Regions from separate parts of the Homo sapiens genome. Here all the other regions are linked to region 2. Evidence: promoter capture Hi-C in 16 types of primary human blood cells and fetal thymus (Javierre and others, 2016). All regions are on one chromosome and are shown on one strand. The core of a region is centred on a gene start or on the middle of the fragment in contact, and the rest is flanking DNA. Distances in the headings are between cores, read along the strand shown. Region 1 overlaps CXXC4-AS1 (CXXC4 antisense RNA 1). Region 2 holds the start of ARHGEF38 (Rho guanine nucleotide exchange factor 38). Region 3 overlaps CXXC4-AS1 (CXXC4 antisense RNA 1).

Evidence for each region. The method cuts DNA at HindIII sites, captures the fragments that hold promoters and counts their contacts. A CHiCAGO score of 5 or more calls a contact.
Region 1: a contact is called between a fragment that was not itself captured here and the fragment with the promoter of ARHGEF38 in region 2, in 1 of 17 cell types (neutrophils). The highest score is 5.5, in neutrophils.
Region 3: a fragment that was not itself captured here is called in contact with the fragment with the promoter of ARHGEF38 in region 2 in 1 of 17 cell types (neutrophils); the score reaches 5.0 in neutrophils.

The regions. Positions count from the first base shown.
Region 1 is chr4:104,612,710-104,616,624 of GRCh38, reverse strand. The region is part of intron 1 of CXXC4-AS1 (CXXC4 antisense RNA 1); the gene reads right to left. All of the region lies in intron 1 of LOC124900745 (a long non-coding RNA gene), which reads left to right. Among named protein-coding and RNA genes, the nearest start is that of CXXC4, 120 kb to the right of the region's middle. The HindIII fragment of the contact is 3,477 bases long and covers 1-3,060 here.
Region 2 is chr4:105,550,343-105,554,470 of GRCh38, reverse strand. It overlaps ARHGEF38 (Rho guanine nucleotide exchange factor 38), which reads right to left and starts at 1,851. Exons shown (of 14, transcript NM_001242729.2): 1 at 1,510-1,851. The coding sequence starts at 1,705. It overlaps LOC105377352 (a long non-coding RNA gene), which reads left to right and starts at 2,187. Exons shown (of 5, transcript NR_188418.1): 1 at 2,187-2,278. The HindIII fragment of the contact is 3,088 bases long and covers 1,724-4,128 here.
Region 3 is chr4:104,631,317-104,635,296 of GRCh38, reverse strand. All of the region lies in intron 1 of CXXC4-AS1 (CXXC4 antisense RNA 1), which reads right to left. The region is part of intron 1 of LOC124900745 (a long non-coding RNA gene); the gene reads left to right. Among named protein-coding and RNA genes, the nearest start is that of CXXC4, 140 kb to the right of the region's middle. The HindIII fragment of the contact is 1,915 bases long and covers 1,023-2,937 here.

The DNA.
Region 1 (3,915 bases), core at 73-2,572, 940 kb after region 2:
AGCAAGCCTCACCACCATGGGCTAACGTGTGCTGGAGTACACACAAACTTGAAATGCAGTGTAGGCCACACGACTACAATTCCTAGGCAAGTCCAAAGGCTGTGCTGGGCTCAGAGCCAATGTACTTGGGGGGAATGTGACAGTGAGACACCAGCCATAGAGATTGAGGGAGTGCTTGCACCACCCCTCCCCCAACCTCAGGCAGCACAGTTCACAGCAACAAAACTGACTTTACTCTGCTTAAGGAGAGAGGAGGGAAAAATAAAGAGAAGTTTGCCACAAGAGTGGCAGTACTCCCTATGGGCCAGTAGTGATGGTAGCCATGGGGAGAAGCTCCTCTGCCTCTGGAAAAGGAAGAGAAGAGTGGCCAGATCTGTGTCATGTGGCTTGAGCACCAGCTCAGCTGCAGTAGAATAGAATATCAGGTAGATTTCTAAGTATTTTGATTCCACTCCATGGCTCCTGGACAGTATCTCTGGACCTGCCCAGGGTCTGGAGGAACTTGCCACCCTGAAGGGCAGGACAAAAACTTGGCTGGCTTTGCCACCTGCTGATTGTGAAGCCCTAGGGCCTTACGTGACCATAAACAATAGCCAGGTAGTGGTTACAGTGGGCTTTTGGTGAGACCCAGTGCTGTGCTGGCTTCAGTTCTGATCCAGCACAGCCCCAGTGGCGGTGGCCACAGGATGCTCATGTCACCCCTCCCCCAGCTCTGCATGGCTCAGCACACAGAGAGAGACTTCATTGGTTTGGGAGAAAAAGTGAGAATGAGTCTCTCTCTCTGGTAATCCACAAGATTCCTCCAGATTTTATCCAAGGCTGCCAATGTAGTACTTCTACAAGTATGCAAGAATCACAGTGTTACTGGGCTTGGGGTGTCCCTAATGCAGAAACAGCTTACATCACAACACCCAAGTCCTTTAAAATACCTGGAAGGCCTTCCCAAGGAGGACAGGTAGAAACATGCCCAGACGGCACAGACTAAAATAAATACCTAACTCTTCAATTCCCAGACATTGATGAACAATCATAAGCATCAACACCATTCAGGAAACTGTCACCTACCAAACAAATTAAATAAGGCACAAGGGACCAATTCTGGAGAAAGAGAAATATGTGATCTTTCAGACAGACAATCCAAAATAGCTGTTTTGAGGAAACTTAAAGAAATTCAACATAATACAGACAAGGAAATCAGAATTCTATCAAAGAAATTTAATAAAGAGATGATTGAAATAATTAAAAAGAATCAAGCAAAAATTCTGGAGCTGAAATATGCAAGTGACATACTAAAGAATGCATTGGAGTCTCTTAGTGGCAGAACTGATCAAGCAGAAGAAAGAATTTCTGAGTTTGAAGACAGGCTATTTGAAAATACACACTCAGAGGAGATAAAATGAAAAATAATAAAAAACAATGAAGCACACTTACAAGATCTGGAATATAGCCTCAAAAGGGCAAATCTAAGAGTTATTGGCCTTAAAGAAGAAAGTAGAGAAATGGATAGGGGTATAAAGTTTATTCGAAAAGATAATATCACGGAACTTCCCAAACCTAGAGAAAATTTCAAAATTCAAATATAAGAATGTTACAGAACACCAAACAGATTTAACATAAAGAAGATCACCACAAGGCATTTAATAATCAAACTCCCAAAGATAAACCATTAAAGGATTATAAAAGCAGCAAGAAAAAAGAAACAAATAACACAATGGAGCTCCAATGTGTCTGGTAGCAGACTATTCAATGGAAACCTTACAGGCCAGGAAAGAGGGGTGTGACATACTTAAAGTGCTGAAAGAAAAAATCTTTTATCCTAGAATAATATATCTGGTGAAAATATCCTTCAAACATTAAGGAGAAATGAAGAATTTCCCAGACAAACAAAAGCTGAGGAATTTCACTCACACTAGATGTGTCCTGCAAGAAATGCTAAAGGGAGTACTTCAATCAGAAAAAAAGAAATCATTTGAAGGTACAAAACTCACTGGTAATAAATAGCAAGTACACAGAAAAACACAGACTATTATAATACTCTGCGGTAGATAAACTACTCATATCTTAAGTAGAAAGACTAAAAGATGAACCACTCAAAAATAAGAACTATGCCAACTTTTCAAGACATAGACAATACGATAAGATAAATACAAACAAAAAGTTAAAAAGTAGGGGGCAAAGTTGAAGTGTAGAATTTTTATTAGTTTTCTTTTTGCTTGTTAGTTTGTTTATGCAAGCAGTTTAAATTTGTTATGAGCTTAAAATAATGAGTTATATTTGCAAGCCTCATTGTAATCTCAAATCAAAAACATACGACCAATAAACAAAAAAGAAAAACCAAGAAATTAAATCATACCACCAGAGAAAATCATCTTCACAAAAAGGACAAAGAGAAGGATGGGAAGAAGGAAGAGAAGGCCACAAAGCCAGAAAACAAATAGCAAAATGGCAGAAGTAAGTTCATATTAATCAATAATAACATTGAATGTAAATGAACTAAAATTCTCAGTAAAAAGACATAGAGCGGCTGATTGAATAAAAAGCAAGACTCAGTGATCTGTTGGCTACAAGATACATGCTTCACCAATGAAGACACACATGGACTTAAAATAAAGGGATGGAAAAGGATATTCCATGCCAATGGAAACCAAAAAAGAAGAGAAAAAATAGATTTCAAGACAAAAACTATAAGAAGAGACAAAAAGGTCATTATATAACGATAAAGGGTGAATTGAGCAAGGAGATGAAACACTTGTAAATATATATGCACCCAACCCTGGAGCACCCAGATACATAAATCAAATATTATTAGTGCCAAAGAGAGAAATAGATAACATTACAATGATAACTGGAGATTTCAACACCCCATTTTCAGCACTGGAGAGGTCTTCTAGACAGAAAATCAATTAAAAAATTGTACTTTATCTGCACTGTAGATAGACCTAATTGACCTAATAGATATTTACCAAAGATTTCATCTAACAGCTGCAGAATACAAATTCTTTTTCTCAGCACATGTATTATTCTCAAGGACAGACCATATTTTAGGTCACAAAACAAGCTTAAAACATTTTTTTAAAAACCCTGAAATAATATCAAGCATCTTCTCTGACTACAATAGAATAAAACTAGAAATCAAGAACAAGAGGAATTTTGGAAACCATACAAACACATGAAAATTAAGCAATATGCTCCTGAATGACCAGTGGTCAATGAAGAAATTAAGAAGGAAATTGAAATATTTACTGAAACAAATGATAATGAAGAAACAATATGCCAAAACTTATGAGTCACAGCAAAACAGTACTAACAGGGAACTTTATAGCTATAAGTGCCTACATCAAAAATGAAGAAAAGCTTCAAATAAATAACCTAATAATACATCTTAAAAAACTAGAAAAATAGGAGCAAACCAAATCCAAAATTAGTAGAAGAAAAAAAAAGATCAGAGCAGAAATAAATGAAATTGAAATGAAGAAAACAATGCAAAAGATCAATGAAACAAAAAGTTGGTTTTTTGGAAAACATAAACAAAGTGACAAACCTTTAGCCAGACTAATGAAAAAAGAGAGAGGACCCAAATAAATAAAATCAGAGGTAAAAAAGGAGACATTAAAACTGATACCACAGAAATTCAAAGGATCATTACTGGCTACTATGAACAACTATATGCCAATAAATTTGAAAATCTAGAGAAAATGGATAAATTCCTAGACACAAGCAACCTACCAAGATTGAATTGTGAAGAAATTCATAACCCAGACACACTAATAACAAGTAACCAGATCAAAGTCATAATAAAAAGTCTCCCAGCAAGGAAAAGCCCAGGACCCGATGGCTTCATTGCCAATTTCTACCAAACATATAGGAAGAACTAGTACCAGTCCTACTCAAACTATTCCAGAGAATAGAGGAGGA
Region 2 (4,128 bases), core at 602-3,101:
AACAGCAAACCAAATACTGCATGTTCTCACTTATGAGTGAGAGCTAAACATTAGACATACATGGACATAAAGGTGGCAACAATAGATACTGGAGACTACTGGAGTGGCGAGAAACGGACAGAGGCAAGGGCTGAAAAACCACCTACTGGGTACTATGCTCAGTACCCAGGTGATGAGATCATTTGTACCCCAAATCGCAGCATCACACAAAATACGCAAGTAACAAACACACATATATACCCCCTGAATCTAAAATAAAAGTTGAAATTTTAAGACATCCATTCTTTCCAATGTATCTATTGCTTGGAGAAAAATTAATTTCAAAGATTAAACAATGCTCTCCCTCATTTTAAAAAAAAAGTATTTGAGGATAAGATTGATGCTGTGCTTTAGTGCTGAACTACTGGTAATTTTTTTTTTATTTTTACACATTAACTTATAGTAATAATTTTTAGATTTAATTTAAATGCATTTAATTTAACTTATTTAACTTAATTAATTTGCATAACTAAATCTAAGCTCATATTTGTGGAAAGAGATTTGTTAAATATAAGCATGTCCTATCGGTCTTTCTGACCTCATCACAGTTTTTAAATCCAAAACGACAGCTCACAGTGGGATGATGAGAGTTCAGACACACCTTGTGCTAAAAGCAGGAGAGGCAAGTTCTGGAGGACCACATAACAAGTACCGAAGAAAAGACTTAAAATGCTGCCCAATATCAACATCAAAATGAAATTTTACTAGAACAAATGACCTTCAGGAAACAGGAGAGAAAGAAAGGATAGATAGGACAGGATATAGATTAAGGCCCTGAAACAAATGATGTGCTATCATAACTGTGCCAAATTATCTTTGTACCATCACAAAATAAACTGAAGTTATTTCCTCAAATGTCATTCAAAATAAGCATGCTAAACATTTCTTACCATATTTGAGTATTATTCAATTTACTCAAAGGAAATAATCACCTAAGTGAATTTCAGCAAATCTTTTTATACCGTCTCTCTGACTATAACATTCCTTCTTTGTCACAGACACGATTATAGTTTCATGCCCCTATTTAAGATAACCACAATCATAGTTCAGTACCATTACCTAGATATATCTCATGGTGTAATATCACATATCTACCCATTGAGATAAACAATCTTTTGTAGGTTTCTAACTCATTTGCTTTCCAGTGTTTCCCACTTCTTAAGTTGGGTAGAGAAGGGAGAAGAAAAGAGGAAGTTAGAAGAAAAATGATTACCCTCACCAGGAAAAAAAAAAGAAAAACACAGCAATATTAAGAGTAATTCGGAATTGACTCTTTAACATTGAATCACGTAATAAATTTTTTTCCCTATAATTTATAGGTCACATTTACTTTCATCTTCTTATTTTGTGGGAAGGAGAGGTGGTATTCAATTTTCCCCTCTGCCTTGTGTGTTTTCTTTGCAATTGGAAACGTAGCAGAAATGGAGCTGGGAGTGCAGTAACTGGGACAATTGATTTCTTTTTGGTTACCTTGTAATTTCTGGTTGTATTCGGTCCTGTCAGATTGGCTCCTCCTCAAGGTGCCAGAGTGGTCCCCAGAAACACTGCTCTCAACCACAGTGTCAGTCTTCCTTCTCTCCAGCATATAGAGTCTAGACCTCAAGAAGGCCAGATTCTTTTTCTTGGTGACCATGTTTTCTTTCCCAGTGGCTTCTTTGGGCTCCATATTAGGCAAAGACAAGCTTTGGAGGCTTGCAGGCAATGGCTGATTGCTAAGGTGCCTCAGGGTGAGGGTTAAAGCTACTAGAGTGACGAGTTTATCTGCTCCCTTCTAACTAAACCGCTTCACTCCAGGGTTACCTGGCTGTGACTGCCACCACCTCTACGAAGTCCCAGAGCTCCACCCACATGAGGTCATTCTTTTTTAAACCTAGAATCCAACAGGGGAAGCTGCCACCTGTTACCTGAGAGACTTGCAGCACAGAGCTAGGCAAAGCAGGGACTGTGCTGTCACATGCTACTGAAGCAAACAAAAATCCTATTGTATGGGGTGAGGGGTGGGGAAAAAGGAAAATGAACAAGGTGAGGCAGTGAGGAAGGAAGTACACGTTAGCATAACCCGCCGTTTATGGGTTTAATGTGTGCCCATGGGTGTGTGCAGGTGCACTCAGGGCACTGTGTTGTGGTCTGCTGCCTGGAGGCAGACCAGGGCTTGTGCGTGGCTTTTGGCTAGAGTTACTCACAGGTGACCCACGGAGTCAGTGCAGGGGCTATGAGAATTTGCATTTGCATCAAAACGGTGAGTACAGAATCATTTTCAGTGATTACTGTGCACACTCAAAGTTATGCTTCTGCCTTTAAGCGTTGAACATTCAGCAATTATTTACTGAAAACATACTTGCCAAACCCTGATCCGCATTCCTGAGGAAATAAGGATTCACATGTGAGAGTCATCTGGCAGCAGGCAGAAGAAGTGGAGGGGAATGCCCATAGAAGCCTAGAGCCTTTTCAGATTTCTCACTCTCCACAGGCTGCCCTTGCCTGAAATTAATCCTTCCATGGTCCCACCCTGTCCTTTTATGTTTTGGTCCTTAGGAAAATAAGCCCCGTGTCAGGGTTCAGTTTCTATAAGATCTTTTCCCTGTCCCTTTCATAGACGGAGTGCCAGAAAAGGGCATCCCACCTTGGGAATTTAAGGAGAGGAAAAATGTTTGAAACTGAAGGGGCACTACACTTCTAGAAAGTAGAAAGGATAGGGCAGGGATTAAAAGAGAGAAAGGCAGACAGTGATAGGCCTTTCATTAATTTTTTTGAAGTTGTTTTTCCTCATATTTCCTGAGATCTCTCAAGGGAAAAATTCTAAGAAGCTCTGGGAATGTGCTGAGTGCTCTGTATGCCTTCGTTAAAGAAAAGAAAGACCCTAAGGAGGAAAATGGATTCTCTCCTATTGTAAAGGGACCACCAAAATCCAGCTCTGTGCTGACCAGTCTGAATCTTGCATAACTTCTGTTGGAAAAGATTTATAAATGAGGAGAAAGATGTAAAAGTCATTTCCCAGCTCAGGATGTGTGTGCTCAATATAGTTTGCATAATTATCTTAAAAGATAAATGACACATCTTCACCCACTATGGAGACATCTATATATAGCTTGGCGTATTGAATGGCTTTTATTTAATATAATTGATAGTCTTTTTTGAATAAATCCTCCCAAGTACATTTAATAAATACTTTTAAAGGCTTATTTACCTCTAAAATATAAAAGGAATTTTTTGGATTTATGTCAAAATGCCTCAATTGTGTTCGAATATTATATATGTATGAATGTATGTATGCATATACACACTTATTTATATTCACCTGGTAACCACCAGGGATTTATTTAGATACGGTATCACTGAAAAAAAAAGTTCAATTAAAACTACAGGACTTAATGGGTAACATGAGGTTTAGGACAGAGCACTCAGAAACTTTGTCAATGGACCATAAAAATCAGATCAAGACCTAATAAAAATGGTAGCAAGAATTTACACATGATAAATGCTTAAGAAATGCATAAATACTACAGCAAATATAACCCTTTATCTTGAAAAAGACACGGCATTTGCTTGTGGAAATGGGCCTCAGAAAGGTCACAGCTTAAGGGTTGTGAAATGGCAGAAGAAGCATTATTTGAAATCGGGGGAAATTTATTACACCAGATGTGGATGGGTGTGGCTCATAACTCAGGCAGTGAACTGAGGTCACTGGTAAGGTTTGAGGATTGTACCTGTGTGAGTTTTGTGTATTCTTATGTGGCTCAGGTCATCTGGGTAGTTTTCTGCATTCGACTAGTGTTTCAAGTAGACAAAATCACACACAAACAAATGCGAAATTGTGTTATGTTCAAACAATTCCCTAATATGTCAATCTTGTTGGAACAAATTTGTATTTTCAAAACAAGTGTTATAGCAGAACTTATTGTAATAGCTTCATTATACAACCCTGTATTGTTTAACAACAAGGATACATTCTAAGAAAAGCATCATTAGACAATTTTGTCATTGTGTGAACATTATGGAATATATTTTCTTTAAACGTAGCTTCATTATACCATCCTGTATTGTTTAACAACAAGGATACATTCTGAGGAAAGCATTATTAGGCAATTT
Region 3 (3,980 bases), core at 731-3,230, 920 kb after region 2:
GGCTGTTCTCAAACTCCTGGGCTCAAGTGCTCCTGCTGCCTCAGCCTCCCAAAGTGCTAGGATTATAGGTGCGAGCCACTGTGCCAGCTACAGTTCACCAGTCTCACTCATGGCAGGTATTTAGTCTCAGAGATATCTCTGGATCTTTGGAACAAAATATGTTATTTAAATGCTCCTGCTCTTCTCCACTTTATTTTTACACCAATAAATGCTTTCACCTTTATCTTCTCTTAAGAGGCCACTTTTTATGTCAATATTCTAAATAACAGTTCTTCATAATTTTACGTTTTCATTAAATTCACTCAAAGCTCAGGTCCTTTCCCTTAGACTGAACTACTGAACTAGCCCTGTTTTTGTTGTTGTTGTTGTTGTTTTGTCAAGCCTGCACATACTGATGGTTCAATTTTCATTTAGAGATGAGAGCTCAGAATCTGCACCAGTCCTACTGAACACGTGTGAGAAAGACATGACATCTGCCTCAGGAGAATGTGAAGTGAACAACACATGCTCCGTCTTGGGCACACTTGTGCTCAGTTAATGCTAATTGGTTGCTCATTCAGTGTCCCTTGCTATAATATGTACTACTGGGAATTCTATGGCTTAGGAATAACCTATTCTGTCCTTCCAAGGGATATTTGAAGGGATCTGAAATCATCTGTAAGAATAGATACAATTCTATCAAGCTGTAAAAGAGGATTCTGGTTTTTTCGCCAAAATATTTAATCTTATAGAAGATATTAGATGTTATTAAGAGAAGAAAAGCACAGAGTAGTGCCTTTACATCTTCCAGATTTTCCCAGAAGATAATATTGCTGAATTGTGTCAGTTTATTTTGTTCAGTTTTCTTCATTGTGTGCTTGGCTTTAGAAGGTATTTTACTCCCAACAGCTCTGTTGGTAATAAGCAAGATGTTAGGCCAGTTGTAGCTTCTTCTAGATGTGTTTCTGAGGAGCTGCTCTTATTAATTTCTACCCCATCTGTTTAGTCAATTTACCATAAGTGACTTTTCCAAAACTAAAGCTTACCTTGTATGGTGGCATTCTGTAAAACCCTAAACATTCACATTCTTGTCGAAAACGACATGGTATCATGGATGTTTCTATGCATGTGGAACTTCTCTGTTCTCCTAACTCTTAATTCTTTATTATTATAGTGATATATATTCTTAAACCTCAATTCTGACTCTTCTACCTGTGCAGATCTCCCCATTCTCCGTAGGCTTTGGTAAATTTAAGGCAGGAAAAAGTATAGTAGAAAGAAGTCAGGAGTGATAAATCAGACCTGGTTTCTGGTTTTAGGTTTTTGAATTTGAGTACATTTTGGTCTTCTGAATCTTAGTTTTCTCATCCACAAGATGAAAATGTTGTGGATCAAGACTTGGAGTTCCTAGTTGTCAAATGATTTGGCAGTCCTTCAAACTGATAATCCTCAAACAGTTGTTCACCATGTATTTAATACAGCCAAGGTCAATAAGGTCAATGCTTCAAGGATTTTTCCCCCAACTTGAGATTCCTGACCACATTGGCAGCAATAAGATCAATTTATATTTTGGCAGCTATACAAGGACTCTCTTCTTTGTGTTAACTGGCTCTCTATTTCTTCTAAACTCCTGTGCTGTTTCAGCACCCTTTACAGGTAAGTGCTCAAGATTTCTTCTTACTCTATATGTGATATGGCCCCTTTGATTGTCCATCATTTTCATGATATAATGTTAATGTCTGATTTAACATTATATGGTATTAACATGGTTAATGTCTGATTTAACCAGCTGTGCTGTTTCCTGTTTGTACTCTCCCGCCTGAAATGTTCTCACTGTCCCTCTCCCCCAGATCCAAATGTTTCAACCTTGTTTCTTCCATGGACAACTTTCTCTTGACCTCTCAAGACAGAATGAGGTATTTTCAACTATATACTCCCATATGCTTCTTCATACTTCTTTGCAAACTTTATTTTATTGCAATAATGTATTTGTTTATACATATATTTTTATTAATAAACTGTGAGTCTAAATAGTAAGTCTATTTTAAAAGTTAAAAACTCTGTATTTGGTTTTAGGTCTCATATCCTTATCTAAATGCCTATATTACTCAGCTTTGTGAAAATGATGTCTACAGTGCATAATAAACAAGCCCAAACTCAATGGTTTTAATAATAAGTATTTATTTTTCATTCACACATCTGTGGATCAGCTGGGAGGGTACTGCTTCAGTCTGCAAATGTGTGAGTTGGCTGGGGCATCTCTGTACCATGTATCATATACTGAGGCCCATTGGATAAGGGGATAGCAGCTATTCTTGTCATGGCAATGAGAAAAGAACAAGGACAATTCAAGGCCTTACTTAAAGCATGTATGCTATATCCCATCATTAAAAAAAGACCCATGGACAAGTCTAAAGACAAGGGGCATAAAAGTACACTCCTCTGACCATGAAGCCATGAAAAGAATGAGAATGTACATTATACTACAGGGGAGTGAAGAATTAAGACCACTAATTCACGAACTCAGTCACCATAGTACTCAACAATGTGTTTGCTGTTGAATGTTGTTGAATGAATACATATACATGAGTAAATTCTGAAATTACAGGTGGCTCAACAAGGATATTGTTTAATAAGGGGGAAAAATGAAGACAAAGTGCCAATCTGAGCTGCAAGTTGTGCTACTTTCTTAAGCTGTTCATTGATTAATAAAATAGAAGCCAAATGGTATGACCTGGCCTTTCCCAGTGACAAGAGGCTCTAGAAAATAGCAGTTGTGATTCATTCCTTAATCCAGACTTAAGCTCATGCATAAAAGCAGCCTTTTTCTTATCCTCACAGCAATTGTCTATAAGGGAGAAAAGGAAAGAAGAGATAATTCCTGTTAAATCCCTGACACTAAGGGTAGGAAGTGATTCCTTTCTAATTTCACCAGGCTCTTTAGTTTCCTGAGAAGCTTTCCTTCCCCGTCCCCCCAAATTCTCACTGGGATTAGTTAGCAACAAATGATTCCTTCTCTTTATTACAGAAAAACCTGATACCTATCTCAAACCTATAATTATTTTTGTTCTAAAATGGGAGGAAAGACATTGGGTCAGTAAGTAAACCATGAGTTGAGATGGAGGGATAACCTCAGATAAAGAAGAGCAAGTTAAACAGGAAAAGAAATCACCATATAGGGTTTTCATATTTTACATGTTTGTAAAAGACCACAGGAACCTCCCACACAAAAATTTGTTTCATGGATATGTGAGGCCTGGAGTGAAGTCCTATGTGAGCTTTTCAGAAAGCCAGTGTTCCATGAGAACAAGAGCAGAGGAGCAAATAGATGTGAGAATCCTGGAAGATTTAATCAGGAGAGAGCAGGCTAGGAAATCAGCTACCAGAGGAATCTAAATAGAAGGCAGAAGAGTGAAGCTAGGGGAGAATACAAACCTGCAGAAACTGCACCCACCATTCTGCCAAGTTAGTGTGGGGGAGCAGGTGACAGCACCCACAGCTTCAGCCAGAAGCCAAAGGAGGTTCACCTAGGAAAGAACACTGCTATGAACTGAATGTGTCCCCCAAAATTCATATGTTGAAACAATTGCCAATGTGGTAGTATTAAGAGATGGGGCCTTTAGAAAGTGATTAATTCCTGAGGGCAAAGCCCTCATGGATGGGATGAAGGCCTTTATAAATGAGCTTGAGGGCGTGGGTTCACTCTCTTCTGCCTTCCACCATGAGAGGAGTAAGCAGGAAGGCCCCCATCAGATACCAACTGCCAACTCCTTGGTCTTGAACTAAGCCTCTAGAATGGTAAGAAATAAATTTTTGCTCCTAGTAAATTCTCAGTCTCAGGTATTTTGTTATAGCAGGACAAACAAAATAGAACAGTACTATTTTTCCAGAAAATAAAAAGAGGTGAGAGGTCTCAATTTGGAGAGTAGAAAGAGGCCAGATTAGTAGACTCCATAGTCCTGGGAACCCAAGCCTCTAAGCTCCTGCGATTTAGGGAGAAG